2 separate regions of the Homo sapiens genome follow, and region 1 is linked to region 2. Evidence: promoter capture Hi-C in 16 types of primary human blood cells and fetal thymus (Javierre and others, 2016). All regions are on one chromosome and are shown on one strand. Each heading gives the region's core, a stretch centred on a gene start or on the middle of the fragment in contact. The rest is flanking DNA. Distances are from core to core; before and after follow the strand shown.

Region 1 (5,323 bases), core at 866-3,365, 100 kb before region 2:
ACCTAACCCCCAAGGATGTTGTGGGGACTGACTGAGATGGAGGAGGTCGAGGGTTTAGCACAGTGCCCGGTACACAGCAGGCGCCCCAGAAGTGTTTGTTTCTTTATTCCTGTTGGGCAATCAGGTCCCCCCACCCCAACCAGGGATGTGAGGTGAGGGATATGGAAAGTCGAGAGCCTGCGCCTGGGGCGGGGTGGGTTGAGGGGAAGCCTCACCCACCTCTCTGTGCTCCCGGACCGCACTAACAGGTTGGCGGAGGAGATTGCCTTCCTGGAGAGCTTCTGCCGAGGCCGCTCTGAGGGGGATGAGGAGGAGGAAGAATTTCTTCGCGGCCTGGTGGGGGCATAGTGAAGGTCATTCCCTCCAACTGTACTCTGCAATCCTACCACCCCTCCCAGCTTCCGCCACAGGGCCACAGGACACCTACGTGTCAGCACGCTGTGGGGGCTGCAAGGGCCTGAGGATCCCCGGGGGGCCAGGGGAGCCAGCACCACTGCTGCTGCTGCCCCCTCCTTCAGATTGGGTCCCGCTAGGCTCTTCGCTGGCCCCCTGAGGGGCTGGGGGTCCATTGCTCAGGCCAGGGGGTCCAGGGGATGACTTGAGCTCCACCTCTGTCTCCGTCTGGGTGCCTCGGCTCACCAAGGAAGGGGTGCACGTGGGTGGCAGTCCTGGGGGGGCTGCAAGACTGCTGGAGAGATGTTGAATTAACCTGAAGCCCCAGAGGCCCCAAGGAGGAGGAAAAATGGGGTGTGATGACATGCATACCTGTCCCCCGGAGGAGCTGGTGTGCCAGAGCCCTGCAGGGAGGAAGGGGGCACCTGCAGCCGCAGCAGGCGAAGGGCTTCTGCCAGGGCTGCCTTTACCAGTTCCATCTCCTGCTCCTGCACCCGAAGCCGCTGGCTCAGAGACTGGAGGGCCTCCCGAGCAGGGCCGTCACCTGGGAAAAGGGCAAGAGGTACTCAGAATGTACCCATCACCTGAAGAAAGCGTAGAGGGGATTCTGTCTCCCCACAACTTTACATGTGTCCGGTAGGACTGCCCCTTTCAGGCAGCCCCAGGCTTGAATGCTCGTCCAGAGGGGAGGAGACGGTGGTAAAGGATCAAGGGCCTCCTTCTGGCAGGGCAGGCGAGAAACCTGGCAAAGCTCCCTTCCTGCTGCCGTCTCAGCCTCCGCAAAGACTGGGAGTACCATGGAGTACCGGGGGGGAAATATGGAGTACTGCCGAGGAACGTGGGAGCCACAGAGAGAGGCGCCGCACTGGTGAGGGCAGGGACCGCAGCCCTCCCCACGCGCCCCCAGCAAGCTCAGGTCTCCAGCGAAAGCTGAGTAACTGAGCCGGGGGAACACCAGGAGAGAGAACGGGGTGCGGGAATGGAGTCATACTGAGGACCCAGAGTACAAGAAAAGAGATCCAGAGTGACAGGAGAGAGTGTGAGTGGTGAGCAGAGTCACAGTGAAGGTCTCAGGGGGCAGTGGGGATCAGAAGGAAAAAGACCTGAAATACCACGAGAAGAGGCCCGGAGTAACGCAGGGGGCAGGGAAACATCGAGGGGCCCGGAGTTACGTGGGGCGTAGAATGACGCTGGGGAAGCCCGAAGTGACAGCAAGACCCAAGCAACTAGGGAGGGCGACCGGAGGAACTGTGGAGGATGCTCGGAGCCCCTGGGGCGGAGGAGCACGCGGGGACGCCTCCAGACAGCCGTCCAGCTCTGGCATAACCCGACGAGCCGGGCGCTCCGGGAAGGGGCACGCCGCCCGCCCCGCCCCGTACTCACCGGGCCCCGCGGCCCCGTCCATCCGGCCCCCGGGTTGCTCCGAGCGGCGGCGGCGGAGGAGGCGTCTAAGCCGCGGGGGCCACGGCCGGGGAGAGGGGAAGGGGAAGCACCCCGGGGCGCGCGCGAAGGGCGCCGTACCACCACCCCGAGGGGGCGCTGTCGGGCGCGGGGAAGGGGCCTGGAGGGGGCGCTGTGGGCCCGGGGCCGCAGTCTCCAGACCCCCCCGGGCCCTCGGACTCTCCCGGGGCCGCTCTCGGCTCCCGGGGGTGGGGTGGCAGGGCCGTCCGGTGCCACAGCGCCGCAGCACAAACAGGCGCCGGACGCGGAGCCGCCAGGAAGCGCGGGAGGGGGGGCGGGCCCGAGGGGGGGCCGGGCCGCTTGGTAACCCCTCCCTGTCCGGGCCTCGCCGCTCAGTACGGGGGCGGGGCTAGCCGGCTGACCCCCTGGCCTACTCCCGGCCTCCGGCTCCAGGCCCTTCCCGGATCCCCGCCCCCGGATTCCCAGGGGACGGGGAAGGGAGCGCCCGCCCCGATATCTCCGCCCCCCAGCCCCTAACCCCTCAGGGTTGAGCGGACCAACCCCACCACTTCCGCGAGGGGCAGGGGCGGGGTCACAAAACGGGCCCTCGGCCTAGGGGCGGAGTTTCTCGTAAGGGGCAAGGCCAAGGCATCTTGTATTGGGGCTGACAGGGGGGCGGGTTATTAGGGCTGAGGATGGGAGGATGCTCAGGGTATTGGGGTCAGGGTGGCATTAGCCCAGCTCAAGCCGGGCCGGGCTGACTCAGCATCCTGCCCCAGCCAGCTTCCATCCCTGACACCTCTGCATTCCCTTGGGCAGAGATGGGAGATGGCGCCGGTGTTGCCCCTGGTGCTGCCCCTGCAGCCCCGCATCCGCCTGGCACAAGGGCTCTGGCTCCTCTCCTGGCTGCTGGCGCTGGCTGGTGGCGTCATCCTCCTCTGTAGTGGGCACCTCCTGGTCCAGCTAAGGCACCTTGGCACCTTCCTGGCTCCCTCCTGTCAGTTCCCTGTCCTGCCCCAGGCTGCCCTGGCAGCGGGCGCGGTGGCTCTGGGCACAGGACTAGTGGGTGTAGGAGCCAGCCGGGCAAGTCTGAATGCAGCTCTATACCCTCCCTGGCGAGGGGTCCTGGGCCCGCTGCTGGTGGCTGGCACGGCTGGTGGGGGGGGGCTCCTGGTCGTCGGCCTCGGGCTAGCCCTGGCTTTGCCTGGGAGTCTGGATGAGGCGCTGGAGGAGGGCCTGGTGACTGCCTTGGCTCACTACAAGGACACAGAGGTGCCTGGGCACTGTCAGGCCAAAAGGCTGGTGGATGAGCTGCAACTGAGGTACCACTGCTGCGGGCGCCACGGGTACAAGGATTGGTTTGGGGTCCAGTGGGTCAGCAGCCGTTACCTGGATCCCGGTGACCGGGATGTGGCTGAGTGAGTGATTTGCGTCTCCCTTCCTCCTCCTCCTCCTCCCTGGACAGGCTCCCTCCTGCTGCCTTGAATCCCCACCTCGCTCAGAGGGGCAATAAGTAGAACATAGTGGCTGAGAGACTGGTTACAGCTCTGCCATTTATTAGCTGTGAAACCCAGGGCATGTTACCAAACCACCCTGGGCCCATTCCTTCACCTGTAAAATGGAAATAATAGTACTTATCTGATAGAGTTGTTGTGAAGATGTGAATTATGCTTGGCTGGCACATAGTACAGCAGTCAGTAAATGTTTTACTATTCTTTTTCCCTTCTGAACACCTGTGCCCTTCAGTCCCTCCCCCAGGCCTCTATCTCCAGACATCCTAACCCCTCTGTCCCTCCCTTTGCAGCCGGATCCAGAGCAATGTAGAAGGCCTATACCTGACTGATGGGGTCCCTTTCTCCTGTTGCAACCCCCACTCACCCCGGCCTTGCCTGCAAAACCGTCTTTCAGACTCCTACGCCCACCCCCTGTTCGATCCCCGACAACCCAACCAAAACCTCTGGGCCCAAGGGTGCCATGAGGTGCTGCTGGAGCACTTGCAGGACTTGGCAGGCACACTGGGTAGCATGCTGGCTGTCACCTTCCTACTGCAGGTGAGTCAGCAAAGCATCTGACACCTCCTCCCACCCGGGACTCCTCCCTGCCTCCAACCCTGGGCCTCTTGGAACCGCTGACTCTCCCTGACTCTTTCCCCTTGCTTCCCCCACAGGCTCTGGTGCTCCTTGGCCTGCGGTACCTGCAAACAGCACTGGAGGGGCTTGGAGGGGTCATTGATGCGGGAGGAGAGACCCAGGGCTATCTCTTTCCCAGTGGGCTGAAAGATATGCTGAAAACAGCATGGCTACAGGGAGGGGTTGCCTGCAGGCCAGCACCTGAGGAGGCCCCACCAGGAGAAGCACCTCCCAAGGAGGATCTATCTGAGGCCTAGAGGCCTGGAGCTTGGGGTGAGGAAGAGGGAGGGATGGACAAGTCTGAAAACCTCACAACTCCTTACCAAGGCTCCAGGTTGGGGGGATCGTAGGATTAGAGGGGCTAAGGATAGTCAGCGAGCTGGACTGGGGTAAGAAAGAAAACCAGATGTCCTAGGGCCTAGCCCTTGTAGTCAGAACCACCAGGGAACAGCAAAGAACAGAGTGATGGGAAAGTGACATGAGAAGGCCTGGAGGCTGATTCTGATATAGACTCAATAAAGTTTTTGGATGGAAGCAATTGCTTTTTCTTGTCAAGGGGATGGGGGCCTGGGAGAACTGATTTCTGTCTGATGGAGCAGCTAGGACTCCAAAGTTTGGACCCTGGCTCGACCTGTGCAGCAACAGGAGCCCACATCTGTAAGGATCAGAAAGCAAGAACCCAATGTAAGAAGCAAAGGAAAACAAGAGGCCCCTCCAGGTTGAGATTCTTTATTCTGGAGGTAGGAAGGGGGTCAGCATGCTCAGGTGGGAAGGGTCCAGCCCAGCTCCTCCAGCCCCCCAGTGCATGCCCAGCCCCAATAAGTTACCCAGTTACTCAGCTGCCCTCCCTCCTGGGTCCATCTGTCCTTCTGTTCCACCCTAGACAGGGCCAACCTGACTCAACACAAGGGCTGCTTGTCCCCAGCCTGTGGGCAGTGCCACACGGCAGGCTAGGGGAGGGGTGAAGCAGCAGGACCATGCCCTGGGCCTGGAGGGGCAGAGGGGCCACTTCTGGCTCCAAGGGTCAGGACTTGGAAAACCACATCCTGGGCAGGCCTGGGGCCCAGTCCCACAAGGTCTGTGCCTGAAAAGAGGTGGTAGTTGGGGTGGGGCCGCCATCACACCTCAATTGCTGGGTCTGAGCCCCGGCCCTGCCGCTGCAGCTGCTCCTCCTGCTTCATCTTGGGCTTCTCTGTCCGAGTATGCCACACCAGTACCTGTGCCAGGAGGGATGCAGTGAGAGCCAGGCCCAGCTGCAGCCAGGCCTCTGGGTCCCCGAGCCTGGAATGGATTCTCTAACCCTATCGACATATACAGTATAGGCTTCAAAGTGTAAAGGGCAGGGTGGAGGAAGACTTAGTGCCTCTAAAACCGGGCCTTGGCCGGGCGCGTGGCTCACG
Region 2 (5,805 bases), core at 2,123-4,622:
CCAAGCCGGGGCCCGCGCCCTGCAACCCCGAAATCTGGATTTCGGTGTCCTCCCGATTGAGTCGAAGGCACACGGGCGGCCATAACGAAGAATCACTAAACAAGGGGACCCCAGGAAGTACAGCGTGGCCGACGCTGGTCGCGTGGATCTTGCGAGGGAATCTAGGTTTCTACATTTTGCCAAGAAAGGAGAGGCTCCCTTTGGAGCGGAAATATTAGCGGCAGGGGGTTAACCCCCGACCCTGTCCGTCTCGGTGCACCGCTCCTCAGTTGCTTCCTGGTCTTCCCAGGAGCTGGATAAGCCTGAAGTTGCTCAGTTTGGGTTTCCTAGTAGAACTGGGGCTTGTTTTTGCTTTCATTTTCCCCTCAGGCCGATTCAGCCACAGCAGCCAGAAAGCAGTGGCCGCACCCCTAATGTGCCTTGCAAAAGTCCAGCATGCTGTCTGGGCAGGGACCAAACTTAAGGCTTAACATGTCATGGTCATCTCCAGGACTCAAACATGGCGGAGGTTTACGAACACCAGAATGCCTCCTAGAATCTTTTCCTTCCAAGGGTGCACAGAGGCGAGATGGGACCAGGGACAAGACAAAGAACGTAACAATCCCAGTACGTGTGCTCCTGCTAGAGGTCCCCTAAACTCAGGGACGCATCCTCCCCAGGAAAAGCCTAGGCTGGCTCCTGTTTTGTGCCTGGATATACTTCGGGAAGGGAGGCTGCTTTGAAATAGTAGGGACAGCTCATTACCTCCAGCTTCCAGGTATCTTTGCACAGAAGACAGCAAAGTGGATAAAGGAAACCAAAGGAAGAAAGGTTGTTATCACCAGCAACTGAACTTAGCCTCCTAAGGATATCTTCATGAATTCCAGGGACACCCAGTGAACTTGGGTCACCTTAAGGTGTCCCAAGCAACTTTTTACTGTTGATGGAACTTCTGAGCTCTAAGAAGTCCTGGAGATCTTCTAATTAATTCCCTCATCCTAGAGATGAAGAAACGGGAGAAGTTTGCCCTCCTGGAGTGGGACCCTACCCCCATTCTGTTGCGGAGGAGCCTCAGTTCCTTCTTGGCACGGTGAAAATTCCAGGAAGGATCAATCAGGTCAGGTCCGTTTTAATCCCTGTATCCTGATAATGGCACATATCAGGCACCCAAATACCCAATGAATAGATTGTACTGTACATGCTTAAATGGCAAATGTGGCATGGCAGGGACCAAGCACCTTGCCTCCCTCACCCCCACTGTATCACGGTGTTGGGCAAGTTCCAGGGGAGTAAGTGAAATTTTCCACAACAGCTCAGACATGGTTAAATAAAAAAAAAAAAAATTAGAGTGTTTAATAAATGTAACCTTGATTTTTAAGAAAGCCTCTTTTTGGCCGGCCGGGCGTGGTGGCTCATGCCTGTAATCCCAGCACTTTGGGAGGCCGAGGCGGGCGGATCATCTGAGGTCAGGAGTTCGAGACCAGCCTGGCCAACCCGGTGAAAACTGTCTCTACTAAAAATACAAAAATTAGCCGGTGTGGTGGCGGGTACCTGTAATCCCAGCTACTTGGGAGGCTGAGGTAGGAGAATCACTTGAACCCGGGAGGCAGAGGTTGCGGTGAGCCGAGATTGTGCCACTGCACTCCAGCCTGGGCAACAAGAGCGAAACTCCGTCTCAAAACAAAACGAAACAAAACAAAGCGCCTCTCTTCAATTTTTCTGCACACTCAATGTTCCTACCCATCAGATTATAACTGCGTGGCTACAGCGCTAGGTGGGAAAATGGGGTTTAAGCAGTAACTAGAGACCAGGCATGAGCTATGATTAACCACTTTAAAAAATGATTAATTAGCTCTAACAGCAACTTAAATGTCCTAAAGAATAGATGGCTACCAAAATTAAGGGTGGCCTTCAGGGTACAAAACTGTAAACCCGGGTATCTGAATCCGTGTCACATACAGAGGGTAGGAATTAGAGCAGTATCTACATCAATACTACTACTCCTTCAGAACACTGGATGTCATGAGCCTGTGGTATCTCAGCTTTAAGACCCTGACCATTTATTAGAAACTGCCGTTAGGATCATTTCAGTGCTAATAATGCAATGGTGGCTGGGAGCGGAGGCTCACACCTGTAATCCCAGCACTTTGGGAGGCTGAGGCAGGCAGATCACGAGGTCAGGAGTTCAAGACCAGCCTGGCCAATATGGTGAAACCCTGTCTCTACTAGGAAAAAAAAAAAAAAAAAATTAGCTGGGCCTGGTGGCACACATGTGTAGTCCCAGCTACTCGGGAGGCTGAAGCAGAAAAATCGCTCGAACCCAGGAGGCGGAAGTTGCAGTGAGCCGAGAGCGTGCCACTGCACTCCAGCCTGGGTAACAGAGCGAGGCTCTGTCAAAAAAAAAAAATAAAAATAAAAATAAAAAATAAAAAAGCAATGGCGCTGTTGTAAATTTAATTTACCGTCTCGTTCTCCAGATTCACTGGAAAATAACCCCCATCAAACTTCTGTTGAATGAGTGGGCTTTCCCCCTAGCAGTAATTATTCATGAATATACTTATTTGGCTCCACAATGTACATTTAACTTCAAGCATCCAACTAGTTTTTGCATAGGCCAAATACAGAGGTCGTGAGTTATAATTTATTTTCCTATACTTCAATGGCTCGACTCTTGGCCTAAGCAAGCACTAAATAGACTAATAACTACCCACCCATGTCAACTGACTGCATGGCTGGCTCCCAAGTGAAGGCATGGTAGAATAGGGAGGGAACGGCAGCCACCATGCAAGAGGAGAGTCCTCCTTGGTTGGAGCCCATGCGACCTGAGAAAGAGGCATTAAAAAATGAATAAATAACCCAGTGACACCCTCCGCCCCAGTCAGTGCAGCCACAGGAGATAGGGTGAATTCAATCCAAATGGTTATTTATTCTAAAACTGGAAGCTACTTTGCCTACATTTTCGCCAGAATGGTGTAATGAGAACAGGGGAGGAAAAAGTTACAGATGTAAACAATGACACAGTTACATTTTTTTTTTAAATGGTAAAACCCCTTTTTACTGGCCACTTCCAAGAATGCTTTACAGGTTGTGCAAAAACATTTACAGGCTCCATGTGGTGTTTTTCTCACAAGCTTTCCTGTCTACAACTACAACAGACGTCTGATAAAACACTAAACAAGTCTTCTAAGGAAAACAAGGCTAGGGATTCCTCTGGTTACCATAATCCACATTTTCCCCCTTAACATAGTTTTTCATAATAAAAAGACAGAAACAAAACCCGGACATCTACTGTTGTTGCAAATGATCTCTTGGACTAAACCAACAAGGATGTGGCAGTTTCACTTTCCACCCACCTAGAAAAACAGTTTTGTAAAAAAGATTACTTTCTAGTGTCAAATATCAACAGCGAGTACCTCCCCTAACCCCTGCTGGAAAAAAACTCAACTTGATTTAGTTTAGTCCCCTTGCCCCTAAGGGCCCTAGCATCCCCATCCATGTCACAGACTACAAGAAAGATGCTATTTGCAGGACTAAACATCTGAAAAGGGGTGGCAGCCACTGCCTCAGGAAATTCAATTTTCTATTATAACATAATCTTGCCCTAAGGGAATTTCTTTGGGCTCCAGTTTTTACCTCCTTGCCTTGACATTATAAGCAAAGCTTTCTCAAACTCCCTTAATAATAATACAAAGTTAATGTGTTACAGAAAAATTCATGCAATCACTCCACTGCCACACAGAAATCCATTTGAGGACACCGCAGGGAAGCAGGTGCCAAGAGAAAGGACATGACTATGAGTAAGCAAACTTATCTCCTACCAGCCCCATTCCAGCCTTGGGGTCAGAGGTATTTGGGCGGAAGGGTGTGTCATGACAGACAAGGACACTAGAGGCCAGAATAAGGGTCTGTACACCTGAACAAGGGCTGCAGGGCAGTAACAGTGGGAGGAGGAGAGGAAGACCAAATCAGCCCACAATTTTAAACAGAGAACTGCCCAGGTGAGGAAATGGAAGTGAAGCATTTTCTAGTGGCACAGATTTTCTCACTAGGAACTGCTGCAGTATGTGGTGTCTGCTGAGTAAGCTCTTGGCTGACAGTGCTGAGCAGGAGGATGAATGAAAACTGAAGCTAGACATTGAAAGAGCATTCCATATCCCACCCATATTCTTGAACCCAGCAACCTACAGCTGTCTATCAAGAACTGGGAGGGTATTGGTAAAGTCACAAATGAAACTATCCCAACTGAAGGCTCCTGGCTAGAGGCCTCTCTGGGGACACACAGGGAAAGCGCCCCAAAAGGAATTTTGTTTCTAGAAGTCGGGAAGGGGTGCTCCCTTTCACACGCACATTTACACACGTTCACACTCACACTCTTCCCAAGGTTCAGCAGCCCCACTGAGCTGCCTCCCACCCCCCCCCACCACCCTCCCCTCTTCTATTCATTCTCTACCTGTGTATCAAAAAAACCAGCAGGGCACGAGCCCTCCACACTGTAGAAAATAGTTGCTAGTTGCTATTCTCAGCACCTGGGCCTGTGAGCCCACACCACAGGATTCACCTATATACATATCCCGCTGCAGTGAAAAGAATCCTGCTGTGTTTTCGTGTGAGCTGAAACCCTGAGAAACGTTCCTTCTCTCGCACTGTAAGAGGACAGACACTCTAACAGGGATGATTTCAGAGACCTCCCACCTCTCTCAACCTTGGAAGACAGAGACTAGAGACTGGCAAATCACAATCTTTAGGCTGAGGGCTGCAATCCCATTCTCCCCAAGATTTTACAGGAATTAATCAATGGGTCTATAGAAGGGGCAGGCTATTCTGCTCTGCCATCAAGGACAGTCCCCAGGCTTTCTTGGCCTGGGAATCCTGTAAAATAGAACCACCCACTGGCAGTCTCCATGCCTCAGCCAAACAGCACAAAGGCACAGGAAAATGGAGAGTTGGGACACTGTAAGCCTCCCAGCCCACCAGACCACATATCCCAAAAGGGAAAGGTCGGTAAAGAAAATACAAACGGTTAGTTGGTGCAAGTGATTGATAAGAGCCAATCGTTTATTTTCACTGTCCCAGTCACAAGCTCTCCCTCTGTCCCCACTCCTGCCTGCTCCTACCTGCTGTGGAGAGCACCCTCGCGCTGCCTCCCCACCCTCCCCACACCACCTCATCACTCTCCTTTACTTGGCTGCCAGTCCAGCTGCCTCAGAATGTCAGAAGGGTGCCATTTTCAGTTCTTTTCCTGTCTGACTGTAGGGTATAGAACAGGCAGCCCTAAGTGCTGCTTTCTGCGCAAATGTTTTTTGATTACAAATCTCTAACTAGGTTTGAAATGTTTTATAGAATAAGACAATATTCTTTTCAACAAACTTTAAAAAAAATGTACAGTTTTGTTGTTTGTTTCCACCTCCCCCCTCCCCCACCCCTGCTTGAGCACCCTCCCCCCCCACCACCCCTCCCCGGCAGCTCAGCCCCACCCCGACAGCCCCTGTTTTCCTTGGTTGTGTTTTGCGGGGGTGCCTGGCACCCCCAGAGATTCAGCTTCATGGCTGACAGGTGACCATGGCAGGGGCTTCACCGATACCCTTGGTACCCGTAGTAATTCCTGTAGTATCGGTCTCTGTCCTGGGGGTGGTGGTAGTAGTAACTCTGCCACTAGAAGAGAGGGAAACCCCATCACTTGGAGCCAGAGCTGGCTGAGGATGAAGAGGCATAACACTCATCCTTCTGCTCCTGCCCCCCTTCACCCTGTGTCTATCCCAAGAAGATACTCACATCCCGATTGTATTGTCTGTAATAGTCTCTGTATCTGTTGTACTCATAATCTCG

The links. The method cuts DNA at HindIII sites, captures the fragments that hold promoters and counts their contacts. A CHiCAGO score of 5 or more calls a contact.
Region 1: the fragment with the promoter of EML3 here is called in contact with a fragment that was not itself captured in region 2 in 1 of 17 cell types (non-activated CD4 T cells); the score reaches 5.4 in non-activated CD4 T cells.

Annotation. Positions count from the first base shown.
Region 1 is chr11:62,610,660-62,615,982 of GRCh38, forward strand. EML3 (EMAP like 3) reads right to left here and starts at 2,116. Exons shown (of 22, transcript NM_153265.3): 1 at 1,777-2,116; 2 at 766-937; 3 at 428-685; 4 at 220-333. The coding sequence starts at 1,798. ROM1 (retinal outer segment membrane protein 1) reads left to right here and starts at 2,598. Exons shown (of 3, transcript NM_000327.4): 1 at 2,598-3,212; 2 at 3,599-3,845; 3 at 3,962-4,457. The coding sequence starts at 2,623. The coding sequence ends at 4,180. B3GAT3 (beta-1,3-glucuronyltransferase 3) reads right to left here. Exons shown (of 5, transcript NM_012200.4): 5 at 4,637-5,140. The coding sequence ends at 5,042. RefSeq lists enhancers at 641-1,199, 1,200-1,759, 2,533-2,592 and a silencer at 1,603-2,482. The HindIII fragment of the contact is 22,044 bases long and covers 1-5,323 here.
Region 2 is chr11:62,709,749-62,715,553 of GRCh38, forward strand. HNRNPUL2 (heterogeneous nuclear ribonucleoprotein U like 2) reads right to left here. Exons shown (of 14, transcript NM_001079559.3): 13 at 5,752-5,805; 14 at 2,882-5,631. The coding sequence ends at 5,551. HNRNPUL2-BSCL2 (HNRNPUL2-BSCL2 readthrough (NMD candidate)) reads right to left here. Exons shown (of 24, transcript NR_037946.1): 13 at 5,752-5,805. Among named protein-coding and RNA genes, the nearest start is that of GNG3, 5.0 kb to the left of the region's middle. RefSeq lists enhancers at 1-349, 5,675-5,805. The HindIII fragment of the contact is 529 bases long and covers 3,109-3,637 here.